Regions from separate parts of the Homo sapiens genome. Here region 2 is linked to region 1. The links are contacts of gene promoters, found by promoter capture Hi-C in blood cells and fetal thymus (Javierre and others, 2016). All regions are on one chromosome and are shown on one strand. The core of a region is centred on a gene start or on the middle of the fragment in contact, and the rest is flanking DNA. Distances in the headings are between cores, read along the strand shown.

Region 1 (3,085 bases), core at 285-2,784:
GGGAGGCCGAGGCAGGCGGATCACCAGGTCAGGAGTTCAAGACCATCCTGACCAATATGGTGAAACCCCGTCTGTACTAAACATATAAAAATTAGCTTGACGTGGTGGCCCGCGCCTGTAGTCCAGCAACTCGAGAGGCTAAGGTGAGGCGGAGGTTGCAGTGAGCCGAGATCGCCACTGCACTCCAGCCTGGCGGCAGAGCAAGACTCCGTCTCAAAAAAAAAAAAAAAAAAAAAAAAAAAAAGACCTGACAAGTGAAAGCTACTAATATTGCCATTATCATTTAAAAAAACCCCAGACACAGGTTTTTCAGGGAGTTTCATCCAACCAGGCAGGTCTCAGAAATCAGAAAAGAAATGGAAAGGGTAGGAAATCTGGAGTTTGACAATTCTGAGTTTGAATTTCTTGTGATGGGATCTTGGGCAAGTCATTTAACCTCCCTGAGTATCATTTTTTTCTTTTATAAAATGAAGATTTTTCTCTCTTAACCTTCCAGAGCTGTTTTAAGGATTACAAATCTTCTACTGAAAGGCGTAGCACAGGAGCTGTGCTTGGCAAGTGCCAAATACAAGGCATTAATTATTATTATTAGAATTAATAATAATATCCCCTCCCTCTTACACATTCTTTGTCTCCGGGTGGATTAAAAGGTGGAAGGAGAGGCTACCAACACCATCAGAAGAGAGGCTTCTCTCTAAGTTTCATTTCCCATCTCCTCCAAATCCGCATCCCTCCCAAACGCCGGACCTGTAAGGCCAGCAGGGTCCAAGACACACATCCTTTGCCCAGCGGGGAAGATTAAAGCTAAAGCTCAGAGAGGGAAAACATTTCCTAAGCTCGCACAGCGAATCAGGACAGAAACCAGGACGAGCCTCGGAATCCCTCCATTACCTCCACTTTCACCTGAGCATCACAGCCCGCTCGGGACTCAGTTTCCCCACCTACGTGACCACACCACACTAATCAGGGTCTCCTTTTGGAGATCTGCTCTTCTTCTCGAATGGGGGCGCTGCACCATCGGTAGAACAGGGTAGGTGGGGGCGCCAGAGGTGAAGGGGACCTGCAGGCTGGGGTCTTCCCCGCCCGGGTCAGCGGGGTCCCTGCGGGGCTAGTCTAAGCGCCTATTATTACCAGCCCCCGGGGCGGCGTTGCACTGCGCAGGCGCGGGCGGGGCGCGGGCGCGCGCGCGAGCGAGCGAGGGATTCCCTCTGACGTCATTGCTAGGATACCAAACAAACACTCCGCCGCGCCGGCCGAGCTCCTTATATGGCTAATTGCGTCACAGGAACTCCGGGAAGGCGGGGCCGGGATCCCCTCCCGCCGAGTGGCCCGGAACGCAACCCCCGAGACCCCCAGGGCCCCGAGGGTCATGCAAGTGACCAGATCGAGTCTAGAACAGACCTCTTGCTGGACAGTGCGGGACTCGATTTGGCGGGGCCGGAGATTTGGGGAAGTTTGTCCAGCAAGGGGCGGGTGACGTAAGCAGGGGGGCGGGTCCCGGGCATATAAATACAGGCTGGCGGGTCTGTGCTTCATTCATAAGACTCAGAGCTACGGCCACGGCAGGGACACGCGGAACCAAGACTTGGAAACTTGATTGTTGTGGTTCTTCTTGGGGGTTATGAAATTTCATTAATCTTTTTTTTTCCGGGGAGAAAGTTTTTGGAAAGATTCTTCCAGATATTTCTTCATTTTCTTTTGGAGGACCGACTTACTTTTTTTGGTCTTCTTTATTACTCCCCTCCCCCCGTGGGACCCGCCGGACGCGTGGAGGAGACCGTAGCTGAAGCTGATTCTGTACAGCGGGACAGCGCTTTCTGCCCCTGGGGGAGCAACCCCTCCCTCGCCCCTGGGTCCTACGGAGCCTGCACTTTCAAGAGGTACAGCGGCATCCTGTGGGGGCCTGGGCACCGCAGGAAGACTGCACAGAAACTTTGCCATTGTTGGAACGGGACGTTGCTCCTTCCCCGAGCTTCCCCGGACAGCGTACTTTGAGGACTCGCTCAGCTCACCGGGGACTCCCACGGCTCACCCCGGACTTGCACCTTACTTCCCCAACCCGGCCATAGCCTTGGCTTCCCGGCGACCTCAGCGTGGTCACAGGGGCCCCCCTGTGCCCAGGGAAATGTTTCAGGCTTTCCCCGGAGACTACGACTCCGGCTCCCGGTGCAGCTCCTCACCCTCTGCCGAGTCTCAATATCTGTCTTCGGTGGACTCCTTCGGCAGTCCACCCACCGCCGCCGCCTCCCAGGTAAGTTTTTGATAGTAGGGGTGCTGCTTTGTAGGTTTTATTTTTTAAGTCAAGGGTGAAAAGAATAAACCCCAACCCCCACAAAAAGGCGCATCAGAACCCTAGATCTGAGATGGAAAAGGCTCACAGCGCACTTTGCAAACTGCAAAGAGTCGGGAGATGTTTGCAATTGGTTGCGTGCGTGGAGCGCAAGGAGGGAACGCGGCAGGGAGGGTAGGCTTTGGGGCGAGGTGGGGGTGGGGTGGGTAATGCGCTGCTCAATGCAACGTGTATGCGGTAGCGGGGCTGAGAACTTTGAGCCGGCCCCGGGACTGCCCCCTGCTCGGGTCCCAGACCTGAAGCTAGCGCAGTTAGGCAGGTGGGGGAAATCCCGGGGAAGCTTCCAGCAGTCTCTTTTCCTTTCCTCCTCCTTCGGAGCGCCCACTTCGGTGCCGGGTCGCCCTCCACCCATCGGGAAGAGGGGCCTCGAACCCTCAGCCGCGCTGCCTCCGCCTCCTGCGCGGAGACGTAACGGGGGACCCGTGCGTAACGGCTGACGCGCTGGAATCCTCCGTCTGACGCGGGGCACGCACGGCGCGCGGCGCCCCCTTCGTCCGCCCCGCCCCTGACGTCCCGGGAGCGTTCTATTTTGGAACGCCGGGGCCACGTTGCTAAGGGAGGGGGCAGCCCGGCGTTTCGATTGGCCGCCGGGGCGCACGCCTTGGCCAATCAGCTTTCCCTTCCTATTTGTAGGGTGCATTTTCCTTCCCCCCTCTCTGTCCCCGGAACCCGTGGTTCCTTGGCGGCTGGGTCTCTTTTCGGCGCCTCTAGAGGCAGAGGGAGGGGATCCCTGTC
Region 2 (3,085 bases), core at 291-2,790, 510 kb before region 1:
AAACCGATAATAAAATGATAATTATATATTCAGAATATCCCAATGCAAAGCTTACTCTTTTTCCAGGTAATATATAAGGTTCATAATCACAGCGCTCCAAATATTGACCACTTAAGCATGAGGCCCAGGGCCTGATGTTTTCCATTCGCCATCTAACTACGTCTTCCCAATAACACAGCGGGGCAAAACGGGAAGACGAAGAACGAGTACGATTATATCCCTGGTTTATAAAAGGGGAGAAACTGAGGCTCAAACATAGATGTCACTTGTCACCAGCCTGGCCAACACGGTGAAACTCCGTCTCTACTTACAAAAAAAAAAAAAAAATGGGAGGCTGACGCAGGAGAATTGCTTGAATCCGGGAGGCAGAGGTTGCAGTGAGCCGAGATCGCGCCACTGCACTCCAGCCTGGGTGACAGAGCGAGACTCCGTCTCAAAAAAAAAAAAAAAATTAGCCAGGAGTGGTGGCGTGCTCCTGTAATCCCAGCTACTCGGGAGGCCGAGGATGCAGTGAGCCGAGGTTGCAGTGAGCCGAGATCGCGCCATTGCACTCCAGCCTGGGGGAGAGTGAGGCTCCGTCTAAAAAAGAAAAAAAAAGAGAGAGAGAGACGTCACTTGTCCAGGATATCTTATCCAGTCAGTAGCACCACAAGGGTTAGAACCCTGGCCAGACATCCACCCAATTTCACGGGTGAACAGTTAACAGCCTCTGAGAGTCTTGTCCTCTCTGGGCCTCCGTAACACCCTCTCCAAACTAAGGGTCTCTCAGCAGATGGCCGGGTTTAGAGCTGTACGAAGACACACAGCTAATGAAAAATTGTGGAATTCTCAGAGCCCGTGAAGCCTAGCCCACGGATGCGAGGTTTGGACCACTGAGGGAACGCGCATGCGTGCTAGGCAGGGCAGTCCGAAGGCTTGGGGGTGTATCATAGGGTCTCATCGGAGGTTTGTTGGCCGTAAGACCCCTGGAATTGGAACTCTAAAAACACAGAAAGGATATGAGCTCAGGAGACTTGAACGAAAGAGTTGTCTTAGGAAGAGGGGTCAGAAGACAAGGGTGCTGGGCAAAAGGCTAGTTCTTCGAATCAGAATACGGTGGCCAGAAAGGTTCCTCTGACGAAAGAGGGGCGTGGTTCGAAGCCGTACAGTGGCCGGTAAAGCTCAAGAAACATGGAACGAAAAGGACGCGAAGAATCGGCAGGGAGAAGCGGACAGGATGTCCCGAAAGGCTCATATAACCGAAAAGGCGGGTTAATGTGAAGGGACGGAAGGGACAGAACTTGCGGGAGGCACATGCTGGCCGAGAAAGTCCTGGAGTTCGGAGCATACAGTGTTTTTATTAGGTGGAAACAAACGGGCTGGGAGAAAGACGAGTACGGTGGCCAGGTTGGTCCTTCCATAGCCGGAAGTGGCCTTCCTGAGAGGCGTGGCTGCGGCACTCTTGCCGGATAGGGTGGCCCGGCGGGGCTAGGAAAGCGTGAAATCTCGCGCGATTGCGCTGCGAAGTCGGGGACGGGGCGGGGCTGGCGGCGGGGGCGGGGACCCGGAGCGGGAAGATGGCGGCGGCGCAGGAGGCGGACGGGGCCCGCAGCGCCGTGGTGGCGGCCGGGGGAGGCAGCTCCGGTCAGGTACGGAGGCCGAGAGGGGACTGAGGGGGTTCTTCCCCAGCCGGGGGGCCTCCCACGGGGCGTGTCCTACCTCTTGTCACGGAATCCCGTGCACTGGGGGCTCCTTGGCCAGAGGGACCTTGAATACCCGGCCCAGGCAGGGCCGGACCGCCCGGGAGGCCGGACGGTGCCGGGAACAGGGCCCTGTTGCGGGTCGGTTCCCCTGCACGCTCGAGCCGGGCGGCCACCAGGCTCATTGCTCGATCCGGGGAGACAGTGGCTCGGAGGGGCGCAGGCTTGTACCTTGGCGCGCTGGGTTCTCAACTCCGCGATTCCATGCTCTGAGGCCGTTCCTAGAGTGGTCTGGCGTTCAGGTCTCGTTGTAGTGTTTGAGGTGTGCGCAGTGATTAATTGGGAGTTTTCTAGCTGTGGGGAAGTCAGTATTAGCAGGGCACGGCCGACAGACCCATTTTACAGACGGGAATTCAAGGAACAGTGAGACTAAGGCGCTTCTAGAAGGTCATCCTGGTTAGGTTTGTAACTTTATGTAGAAGTTACAAGACACTGCTGACACAGGGACTGGTATGGTTGTGGTTTTAATGTAAAATAGTTCTATGGGTTAATTAGTCCTGGTGCGGATGACTTCTGCCCCACTGCTGTCTTAACACACTGCAGAGCATACCATTTCAGGCAGCTACCGTTCAGGCATTTGGGGAATAGATGGAGAGACATGAAGGTGCTGTCGACCCACCCACTGGGATGTCACTGACATGTGGGAGGCAGCTCAGGGGAAAGGAGTGCGGGTTGAGAGGGGAGAATGAAGCTGACTCTCTGTGTGACCTTGGGCAAGTTCCTTTCCCTCTTTAGGCCTTTATCTCTCCCGTGTTAAATGCAGAGGTTGGACAGGAGGGCCAGCCATATCCCTGCTGTCAGGGGACGAAGAGAGGAGACTGACATGTAAACAGTTGTAATCCTGAATGATTAGGTTGGTGACAAAAGTCTGTGTCAGGGACTGGGGGAGCCCAGAGAAAGAGCAAGTGGTATCACTTGGGTAGGACACATGGATGAAATTTGTGTGATAGAGCCCACTGTATCTGCTCTGAATCTTTTCAGCATTCTCAGCCAGGGCCTGGCTTCAGGGACAGCTTAGGAAATGTTTGTTGAGTTAGTGCTGGAATGAAGGCTCAGTTCCTGTCTTCAAGGGTTTCCCAGTCTTGCTGAAAGGAGGTCGTTTCCCCTCTGGGTTTCTGTTGATTATTGGGTTGATGGTGGCTTGAGAGACCAGGGCCCAGGTTGTTCTCATTGCCCTGAGCTTCCAGATGGCACTCTGATCTTCTCTTGTACCAACTCTGCTTAAAAACAATCAAGAGTTACCCCTTTGCCTTTAGGACAAAGTACAAATTCTTTAATAAATCACAGTCTTGCACGATCCGACACTTTTCTTCAGACTAGACTAGGATTTCTCGAGCTCGGCACTA

The links. Contacts are between HindIII fragments. The CHiCAGO score rates a contact against its expected background, and 5 or more counts as called.
Region 2: a contact is called between the fragment with the promoter of CLPTM1 here and the fragment with the promoter of FOSB in region 1, in 2 of 17 cell types (naive CD4 T cells and activated CD4 T cells). The highest score is 5.3, in naive CD4 T cells.

Annotation. Positions count from the first base shown.
Region 1 is chr19:45,466,462-45,469,546 of GRCh38, forward strand. It overlaps FOSB (FosB proto-oncogene, AP-1 transcription factor subunit), which reads left to right and starts at 1,535. Exons shown (of 4, transcript NM_006732.3): 1 at 1,535-2,251. The coding sequence starts at 2,126. RefSeq lists a silencer at 1,172-1,451 and an enhancer at 1,636-2,537. The HindIII fragment of the contact is 2,687 bases long and covers 1-2,628 here.
Region 2 is chr19:44,953,840-44,956,924 of GRCh38, forward strand. CLPTM1 (CLPTM1 regulator of GABA type A receptor forward trafficking) reads left to right here and starts at 1,541. Exons shown (of 14, transcript NM_001294.4): 1 at 1,541-1,628. The coding sequence starts at 1,557. RefSeq lists a silencer at 1,464-1,793. The HindIII fragment of the contact is 4,299 bases long and covers 49-3,085 here.